3 separate regions of the Homo sapiens genome follow, and regions 1 and 2 are each linked to region 3. Evidence: promoter capture Hi-C in 16 types of primary human blood cells and fetal thymus (Javierre and others, 2016). All regions are on one chromosome and are shown on one strand. Each heading gives the region's core, a stretch centred on a gene start or on the middle of the fragment in contact. The rest is flanking DNA. Distances are from core to core; before and after follow the strand shown.

The links. Contacts are between HindIII fragments. The CHiCAGO score rates a contact against its expected background, and 5 or more counts as called.
Region 1: a contact is called between a fragment that was not itself captured here and the fragment with the promoter of THEM5 in region 3, in 1 of 17 cell types (M1 macrophages). The highest score is 5.5, in M1 macrophages.
Region 2: a fragment that was not itself captured here is called in contact with the fragment with the promoter of THEM5 in region 3 in 1 of 17 cell types (non-activated CD4 T cells); the score reaches 5.7 in non-activated CD4 T cells.

What each region holds. Positions count from the first base shown.
Region 1 is chr1:151,636,303-151,639,771 of GRCh38, reverse strand. It overlaps SNX27 (sorting nexin 27), which reads right to left. Exons shown (of 12, transcript NM_001330723.2): 2 at 653-884. Among named protein-coding and RNA genes, the nearest start is that of SNX27, 26 kb to the right of the region's middle. The HindIII fragment of the contact is 704 bases long and covers 1,187-1,890 here.
Region 2 is chr1:151,982,653-151,986,058 of GRCh38, reverse strand. S100A10 (S100 calcium binding protein A10) reads left to right here. Exons shown (of 3, transcript NM_002966.3): 3 at 2,735-3,144. The coding sequence ends at 2,896. Among named protein-coding and RNA genes, the nearest start is that of S100A10, 9.5 kb to the left of the region's middle. The HindIII fragment of the contact is 2,742 bases long and covers 339-3,080 here.
Region 3 is chr1:151,851,817-151,855,385 of GRCh38, reverse strand. THEM5 (thioesterase superfamily member 5) reads left to right here and starts at 1,674. Exons shown (of 6, transcript NM_182578.4): 1 at 1,674-1,943; 2 at 2,927-3,128. The coding sequence starts at 1,821. The HindIII fragment of the contact is 9,012 bases long and covers 1-3,569 here.

The DNA of each region.
Region 1 (3,469 bases), core at 289-2,788, 220 kb after region 3:
ATTCAGCAAAGGGGCTAGCACACATCACTAAAAATTCAAGATGGGCTTTCCTGCATAGCTACAACAGCAACAGATTAGAAATGTGTGAAACAGCTCATGGGAATTGCATTCAGGAAACTCGTGGGAAAAACCACAGTTAATCATTCACACGGATATCTCCAAAGAAAATGAAAAAGAACATGATGTGGAAAGAAGAGTAGAGACATCTAAGTTCTGAAATGGGTGAACCTCTCTATTACCCAAATATCTTGAAGGACACCATCCTTTTACATTAATCTTGCCCTATAGCACCACAGAATCAACAGTAAATAAGATACTATTAGCAAAGAGATACGGCAACCAACAAAAGAACAAACAAAAAAGAAACTAAACAAAAACTCACACGTTTACGACAAACCAGAATGCAAACTTGAAACTATCTAAAAATAAAATGGAATTATACTCAAGCTGAGTAGGACTCTTTTCCACTACTGTAATTCACCCCCTGCAATAAATCAGGGTCAGTGTCTTTTATTTATGTGTGAACTCATCCTCCTGGTAGACAAACTGACCTAGGTTGCAGCCTTTTATCTACCACTATAATAGTTTCATAATTATAAGACTAGGGGAAACAAAGCTAGATGTTCGAGGATCGAGTTGGGCTGACACTCACCACAAACTTCTCACCATTCTGCTCCACATGTTTGTATCTGGGGACCGATATGGGCACTGCTTGCTTTTCTGTGTAATCATAAAATGATTGTCCCAACGAGTCGTCACTGGGATCTAGGTTATCTGCCTCATGAGGAGGTACAGATAACACTGTCAAGATCAATTCCTTCTCGCCTGCTCGAATCAGGTCCACCACCTGCTTGTGTGTCGCCCCCTCAACATTCACGTGGTTCCTAAGGGGAAAAAGGGAAAAAGACAATCCCATAAACCAGAAGGGTCCAAACACCTTGTATCTCCACCCTCCTGCCCAAACTCCAGTGTCACACGGTATGAACCATGAAGTCAAAAGATTAATTTGGTTCCAGAAAAGTTGTTTATGTTTTAACAGTTTCTAATGTGAAAAACTTTGTGAACTTATGGCGGGGGGAAAAATGGAAAGAGGTGAGAAGACCTCCCCTTCCTCTATACTAATATCCCACACATAGCTTCAGGAACGCACATGGAAAGAGGCTGAAGCTGAGGAGGAAACAAAGCTTTTTCAGTCAAACAATCCAATTTCCTCATTCTAACTAAGCATGTATACAATTCAATCAAAGTGGCTTTTGACAGCCCTGCCACTTGAATTGTACTTTGTCCTTTTTAAACCTCAAAGGAATTCTGTTAAAAGAACCTTCACAAAATAAATTCTCTTAATTTGTAAATAGAGACTCAAAAAAAGTTATGACTGAAGATAATTCCTTTACATTTACATCCAATTTCTCTCCATATCTCAAATCAGTCAACTTAATTTTCCTTTATGCCAAGTTTCATTACTTTGGGAGCTAAATGGTATTACTCTTCACATACACTAGTTTCCAATTCAATTAACCTCTTGGGATTCCATCAACTTTTTTCCTGCTCTATGCTATCTCATTTAGAGTCCTGTGTAATCAGTCCAAACTAAAAAATATACACCTATAATTATATGGTCAGCCTACTAATTTTCCTTCCTGTTTTGCTGTGTACAAAAGGCTGAAATAAGGCAAACAAAGTACAAGGTTTAGATGAAGTATTTTGTCAAGAAAGATGCTGAGTCTCACAAGACTCCCTCAGCAAACCAAACTACCTTCCAGAATGCTGATCCAGCTGCTCTCTCAGCAAAAACCACTGGGCAGCAGGCCTGGAGGTTCCCTCCCATGGCTATCCCAAGAGAGGTAGGAAATACACACCTGACCTCTAATCAATTTAACATTTAAAGCTTATCTACCCTTTAGAGTTAAATTCTTTTTCAGTCCTGTTCCAAACCATTAGGGATTTTCCTTCCTGAAAAATGATACTAAATTTAGTAACAAGCCTTCCATAAACTTTTCAGTCACTGAAATTGTCTCTGTCAGAGTCTGGTATCTGAAATATCCATTTATATAAACAGAACAGTCAGGAGACCCCCCAGCTAGCCTCCTGGGATTTAATTTAGGGTTTAACAATCTAGCCAGTAAATTCAGCACTCCTGACATTTCACATCCTACAAGTCTAACTTATATACAAAAAAATCAGTAATTTTACAATAAGCTAGCTATAGAAAAAAATAAAGAGCCCCTTTCACTGATGGAAACTTGGGCTTTGAATTCATTCAGTCAGACCTGTGATCAAAAAACATGATCAGGCGCCGGGCGCGGTGGCTCAAGCCTATAATCCCAGCACTTTGGGAGGCCGAGGCGGGTGGATCACAAGGTCAGGAGATCAAGACCTTCCTGGCTAACACGGTGAAACCCTGTCTCTACTAAAAATACAAAAAATTAGCCGGGCATGGTGGTGGGCGCCTGTAGTCCCAGCTACTTGGGAGGCTGAGGCAGGAGAATGGCGTGAACCCGGCAGGCGGAGCTTGCAGTGAGCCCAGATCACGCCACTGCACTCTGCACTCCGCACTCCAGCCTGGCGGACAGAGCAAGACTCTGTCTCAAAAAAAAAAAACAAAAAAACAAAAAAAACGTGATCAACTCTGATCATATACCAGCATGGTAAAATGGAAAGAAAATGGGCTTTGGAGCTACTTACAGGAGTTTAAATCCTGATCCTGACTATTAGTACCAGAATTGGTCTTGACTGAGTTTTTAACCTTTCTTAGCCTTGCTTTCCACATGTGTAAATGGAGACAATAAGTTCCTAACAGAGTTGCTGTGAAGATTAATGTAATAAAACATGTAGAACAATTCCTAAACATTTATATCAGAAGGTTTAAGAAGTAAAGAGGTACTATGTATATAGATTTTGATTAAAGAAGAAATGGAAATCTTAAGTAAGGAACTGGCAAAAGATTTTATCTAAGTATTTGGCCTTACTAGTTCTGAGAAAATGATTTGATGGTATAAGAAAAAAAATGAAAAAGCAAGTTTAGAAATCACCATACATTCTTATATATCCCTAGGAACCTTAGCTAACTCATGAATATCCTTTTTTTTTTTTTTTTTTTTTTTTACAAAAGTGGAAAAAGCTGACACCTTAAAGACTGGCCAAAATACTAATATCTTGGATACAGGCTAGGCACAGTGTGGCTCACACCTGTAATCCCAGCACTTTAGGAGGCCAAGGCAGATGAATCACTTGAGTTCAGGAGTTTGAGACCAGCCTGGGCAACATGGTGAAACCCCGTCTCTATACGAAATATACCAAAAGATTAGCCAGGCCTGGTGGCACGTGCCTATAGTTCCAGCTACTTGGGAGGCTGAGCTGGGAAGAACACCTGAGCCTGGGAGTTCAAGGCTGCAGTGAGCTAGATCATGCCACTGCACTCCAGCCTGGGTTACAAAAGAAGATCCTGTTTTTTAAAAAATGAAATAAA
Region 2 (3,406 bases), core at 460-2,959, 130 kb before region 3:
CAATGCTTCTAGGCCTTGGTTCCTTTTCCTTCTTGTTTCCATCCCTTCCCTGTGGAGGTCACCACTAGTGAATAAATGAATGTAGTCACCTGAAGGAATGAATGAATGACCTCATTCATTCATTTATTAAATAGTATTGAGTACCTGCTATTTGTAAGATACTGTTGAGGAAACAAAGTAATGAAGACACAGCCCCAACCTTCAAGGAGCTTACAGTCTGCAGGTGAAATAAGACTGCATACAAATAACCACAATATGAGCTGTTTGTTGGAAAATTCCATCGGGTTATCTGTGTCTGTTGTGACGATGTTGGGGACAGAGTTGGGAGAAAGAAAGCTTTTCACAAAAGAGTAGTCAACCAGAAAATGGCTACCTTCAGGTCCAAAAACCTGGTGGTGGAGATGCCACATCCTGGTCACATTCCATTTTGAGCAACTCGAATCTCCCTTCTTAAATCTCTTCAGATAAAGGGATTGTTTTTTCTTTTTCTAATACTACAAAGGAGCAGTGTCAGTCATCTACTGAATAAAAGCCACATATCACTCCAGAAATAACTGCTTTTCACATAATAATGCTCTGACAGCACAGGAGCAGTTTGAATTTATGTCTCACCTTTGACAGACTGAGAGATGCATGAAGACCTATAAGAGGACTCTGCCATCAGCTCAGATACATCACTCAGGACATGGGGCCACAAGGCACAGTTGTCCTTTTATATTCCAGGTTCTCGAGAGGTGGCTGTTGAATTCAACTGAAGGTGCAACATTGCATGACAAAATAGTAGACTGAAATGCAAGCCCTTCTTTCCCTACCACAATTGTAGTCACCTGAAAAGATTGTTTCTGTGCTTGGTGTTGAATAATGCATTAACCTGTAAAGGGTGAGAGGAGATACGGTAAAACGTTGGGTCCTGCCTCTTGTCATCTGACTGGTAAACGGCACATTAGTCCAGCCCCTGACTCCTGCAATCAATAAACATGAGGCTTTTTAGTATACTATAATTCGTATGTCATCAATATCAGTTAAATAAACAGATATAAATAGCCTAACTGCTCTCTCAGAGCTGCAGTTATTACCTAATGCTATCCCAGAATGAGTTAGAATATGCAGGTCCTCTGCTTTTGTAGAGTCCTGTGATATAGCCCCAGACCAGGAGTTAGAAGATCTGGCTCTGCCTTAACTAACAATGGGCAGGTTGCTTCAGCTCTCTAGTCTTCAGTTTCCTCCCCTGTAAAATTAGAGAGGGCTGGACATAATTATCTGCAAGGTCACTTTCACTTTCTATGATCATTCAAGACAAGCATTAAGATGCAAGGACAAAATGTGCTCATTGTAAGCCTGCCTGTCCTATAGACAAAGGCATTCTCAGTACACTAAACACTTGTTAAGAGTGTTGTTAAGAGCCAGAGTGAGTATCATGTAAGACACAGACCCTTTCTTCCTAAAGGCTTTGTGGCATCAGACACATAAAGGGTATATGTAGTGTGGAGCACTAACCATGGCAGGGTAATTTATTCCAGGCACAGAGTCATAATTCTGGAAACATCTAGACTCACTGCATTAACAGAGCATTTTGTTTCTAAAGTAGACCTCTTATGTCATCCAGATTTCACTCATTCTGACCACAGCCAGGAAGCTGAGGGTGAAGCCAGAATTAGCTGAAACCCACCAAGAGCTGCATAGAGCACGTTTAGCTAGAGTAGGAGTTTGCAGTGCTCATGTGGGAAATGCTGCTGCTATACTTTTAGGAATTTCTGAGTGCAATTTAGAAACATCTAGCACACTTGAAACACTGCGTATCATTTTCCTCACTCATGAATATAGTCATCAGAATTCATAAATAGTTTACCTGAGCCCTTTAACAACCTCAAATAGGCCATATTTCTCTCTCTGGTTGATGGCATGGACCCTACAGGAAAAACCACACCTTACCGCTTCTGACCAGCATCACTACAAAAAGGAGTGCTGAAGCCAATCACCATGTAAGCAAGATAAAAGCAAAGGGGGTCTTGCCTGCCCATCTCTGTTCCATACATTCTTACCAGGCACTGAGAGTCATGGGGAGTTTAAGACTCCATCCCACATACTCCTTTTGAAACTGGTCCAGTGTACAACATCCAGTGAAGAGTATAGGATGGCATAGACTTACCAACTCAAAGAATGAAAGGATTCTAGAAACATTATAGTCCAACCTCCTCAATTCATCGTTGATACACAAAGGCCCACTAAGCTGTGTGGTTCACTCAGCATCACGTGGCTAATATGATATGAAGCCACACTAGCTTGTCCTCAGCTGTGCCAAGAATGAGAGCTGCCTTCTCCAAACCTAAAACCAACCCATGGCATCATTAACACCTCTTTAAAATCCATAGGACAGTGATCCAAAACTTATTCCCTAAATCATAAATATCTTTTCATAAGGAGTTTCCTTTGTAAGGGATTTGACCATGCCATTAGGAATAAAATTTTAATAAGAGAATGTAAGTTTAAACCATAAAATGAGGAGCTTAGGGTGGTTCTTAGGCAGAATCTAAATATGAAATTACTGAAATGCTCCCACAAGGCAAAAAAAAAAAAAAATACATTTAGATGAACTCCAAAGGTTGCTTATGACCTAAAACAAGAGCTCAAGTAATTGGGAGATATATACACAGTTCTCAGCAGTACAAATCAAATAAGCTCCTCATTGCAACCTTTGACTTCTATTTCTTGCCTTTGTTCTTTTTTTTTTCAGAATCAAAAAGACCCTCTGGCTGTGGACAAAATAATGAAGGACCTGGACCAGTGTAGAGATGGCAAAGTGGGCTTCCAGAGCTTCTTTTCCCTAATTGCGGGCCTCACCATTGCATGCAATGACTATTTTGTAGTACACATGAAGCAGAAGGGAAAGAAGTAGGCAGAAATGAGCAGTTCGCTCCTCCCTGATAAGAGTTGTCCCAAAGGGTCGCTTAAGGAATCTGCCCCACAGCTTCCCCCATAGAAGGATTTCATGAGCAGATCAGGACACTTAGCAAATGTAAAAATAAAATCTAACTCTCATTTGACAAGCAGAGAAAGAAAAGTTAAATACCAGATAAGCTTTTGATTTTTGTATTGTTTGCATCCCCTTGCCCTCAATAAATAAAGTTCTTTTTTAGTTCCAAATTTGAGACAGAATGTTTGTTGTTCCCTCAGAAATTCTTGTTCCCCAAGAGGCAGCTTGCCCTTGGGCAGCCAGCACACAGCAGAGCTTTTCTTACACAGCAGAGCTTTTCTCACAGAACTGGCAAAATGAGAAAACACTCTTCATTCAGGCTTGGAGTCTGACTTCTCTAATTGTTCTGCCCTTGTAGCTGTGTCTATATGAAGGACTCAAACTTGAAGGATTAGGAGAAGGCTCTACAGGAATAGATGGTAAGTTTATAAT
Region 3 (3,569 bases), core at 425-2,924:
AAAAAAATGGTTCCCCCAGTCCTTGAGGAAGTTTAATTCAAACCTTTGCAGGAGGTGAGGGGAAATATTTATATTCTAGTCTTCTTCTAGGGCAACCAAATACAGAGGGTGAACCAAATCTTTTAAATTTCCGCATTAAATCAGTTTCATCTTTTGGAACCTGCCAAAATGTCATAATCATCACAACTATTATTATCGTCATCATCACTGTTATGATTCCACCTTTGCACAGTTCTGATTTTTTTTTTTTTAAGACAAGGTCTCACTCGGCCTCCCAAAATGCTGAGATTACAGCCTTGAGCCACTGCGCGAGGACTGATCTTTAGAACATGCTTTTATTTTAGTCAATTTAAAACTGAGACTTTTAATTGAAAATTGGCAGTTTAAATTCAATAGAAGACACACCACCACCAAATCCCACTGCCTTGCAGATGTTGGCTGAGTGTCCCTTCCCACTCAACAAAGCCTCACTGCCGCGCCCACCTCACTCCCAGCACTGCCTGCTGACATGAGCCACTCCCTGGGCACGGGGTTCCCAAAACATGAGAGTATCCCTGCCAAGCTGTTTCCTCCCAAATTATTTTCTGCCCTCCCTGTCAAGCCCTCCCCCACCTCCAACTCCTATCCCCAGCCAGAGACCAGCAGGTGAAACTCTCCTGTGCTAACCCTTGTCCGGGATATAAGAAGAGGTGTTGGCCGGGTGCGGTGGCTCACGCCTGTAATCCCAGCACTTTGGGAGGTCACCTGAGGTCAGGAGTTCAAGACCAGCCTGGCTAACATGGCAAAACCCCATCTCTACTAAAAAAAATATACAAAATTTAGCTGGGTGTGGTGGTGTGTGTCTGTAATCCCAGCTACTCAGGAGGCTGAGGCAGGAGAATCACTTGAACCCAGGAGGCGGAGGTTGCAGTGAGCCGAGATCACGCCATTGCACACCAGCCTGGGCGACAAGATTGAAACTCCGTCTCACCAAAAAAAAAAAAAAAAAAAAAAAAGAGGTGTCTAAGGCTGTGAGTTGGTTTTCTTTTTTTTTATTTTTTTATTTTTATTTTTTTGAGACGGAGTCTCGCTCAGTCGCCCAGGCTGGAGTGCGGTGGCTAGATCTCAGCTCACTGCAAGCTCCACCTCCCAGGTTCACGCCATTCTCCTGCCTCAGCCCCCTGCGTAGCTGGGACTACCGGCACCCGCCACCACGCCCGGCTAATTTTTTGTATTTTTTTTAGTAGAGACGGGGTTTCACCGTGTTAGCCAGGATGGTCTCGATCTCCTAACCTCGTAATCCGCCGCCTCGGCCTCCCAAAGTGCTGGGATTACAGGCGTGAGCCACCGCACCCGGCCTGTGAGTTGGTTTTCTGAGTCACAAAATCATACCAGAGTTTTCAGAGTCCGGTATACACTGCAGAGCACATACCAAGAACACTCCACCAGCACCCTCCAATCAAGGGACAGGCTTCCCTTATCCTTCTGGAAATATTCTTGGATTCTCCCTCAGAACCCCCAGGCAGCTCTCCAAGGCTCTATATACCCCATACTATTTGTTTATGTACTTGTTTACTCCTTTTGCAACTCAAGCCAGTCCTGCTGCCTTTTCATGCCCAAGCAGCATCTGTCCCTCCCCAAGCACTGGGTGGGGCTCCTAGACCAGCTAAAGGCGCCGAGCATCTGTGGGTGTTGCAGCACACCAGCCCAGCCTCGCCTAGCTCTCTGAAAGAAAGCCTGCAACAGAAGGGAGAGAAGCGGCCCCAAGTGCAGCTGAAAGCACTCCTTGGGAGTCAGCCAAGACCCTCCATCCAAGCAGGGCTGGATCCTTGCACTTGGCCATGATAAGGAGATGCTTCCAGGTGGCAGCAAGACTTGGCCACCACAGAGGCCTTCTTGAGGCCCCCCGTATCCTGCCCAGACTCAACCCTGCCTCAGCATTTGGATCCTCCACAGACTCCATGGTGAGTTCCCAGCTCAGCCAGATGGGCAGTGTTTTCCCAGGAGCCTAGGGCTTAAGGAGCACCCCAAATCTCCTCTTCCCAGCCCATGGCCAGGGCAGGTGGGCAGTGTTCGGAGGAGCTATTTGATTTGGCAAAGAGAAAGTGCTCTGGGATACCAAGTTGCCCCCATTCAAAACTAAAACTACCAGGAGACCTGCATCTGGCTCTGTGTCTTGTGTGGCCACCAACAAATGACTTTCCTCCTGTGGGACTCAGACTACTGCAGCAAAGCTGGGGTATCCCCAGACAGAGGACCCCATCTGTGGCATTGGCAAGCAGCTCACATGCTGTCTACAGTTGTGACTGGTGTATGAGCAGGTGACGCTACAGAGGACTTCCTTACGTCACACAGATGGGCACATAGTCTGTGCCCCAGCCATGGCACCACACCTCTGTGGGGGCCCAAATGTGTTTCAAAGGAGCCACCCTGCCCAGGCAGGCCCACAGCAGTGGGCAGAGCTGGAGTAGCCCCTGAGGTGGGGGTTGCTAGAATGGTCCTCAACAACTGTGACCCTGCCCTGCAGAGGAGACAGCATCTAGTGCGACCACCAGCTCTCACAGTCACATGCTTGGCAACCTTGGCCGTATTCCCTCAGTTTCCCCATCTGTACAGTGAGGCTAATATGAGCAGTTGTCAACTTTAAAGAACTGCTCACATGTTTTAAGCAGAACAAGGGTAAGGCACCACATCGAGCAGCATGCCCATCATCTCTGGCCCCACTCCCTGCCCGCCCTTCCCTTGCTCTTTAGCATCCTTATGCCCCGTCACCCATAGGGGTCCGCAGCCCCCCTGCAAGGAATATGGGCCCTTTCCCTTGGATCGATACTCTGGCAGAAGGGATTGAGAAGCCCCAGCACCCAGGAACAGCTGTTTAGAGGTCCCGAGCCCAGGCAGCAGCCCCCCTCCAGGATGCTGTCTAGTCATTCTGATTTTTCCTGCCCAGTTCTCAAGATTCTTGCCAGAGAAGACAGACTTGAAGGATTATGCTCTTCCCAATGCCAGCTGGTGTTCGGACATGCTGAGCCTGTACCAAGAATTTCTGGAGAAGACTAAGTCTAGCGGCTGGATCAAGCTGCCCTCCTTCAAGTCCAACAGAGACCACATCCGGGGACTCAAGCTCCCATCTGGACTGGCAGTTTCCTCAGGTAAGGACAGGACCATGAGTACACACACCCCAGCCGCCCTTCCCTGTGTTCTAAGACTGAGAAGCAACTTCACAGACCGCCTTCCAGTTCTCAGCGAGTTCTTCCTGCTGTCCAACTCCACCCCTGATGCTGCAGCCCCAGGCAACAGGCGGCGGGTGTCCTCTCAGGTCTCCAGCTCCCCTCCTCCCATCTGAAGCAGCACACCCTGGTGGGCCCACCTTCGCTCCCAGCCAAGCATGTCCCCACTGGAGGACAGCCAGCCCAGCTCCTGCCCCGACTTCTCACTGACTGCCCCTCCCTAACTATCAAGCCTCATCCCAAGCCTTCCGCCCCAACCCCATGAAAGCCCTTGGACCCCACACCCCTTCCACTGAGGCCCTGCACATCATCCCTGCTGTGCGGGGTCTGGAGCAGCACTCCTGAAACACCTAATGATCCTAA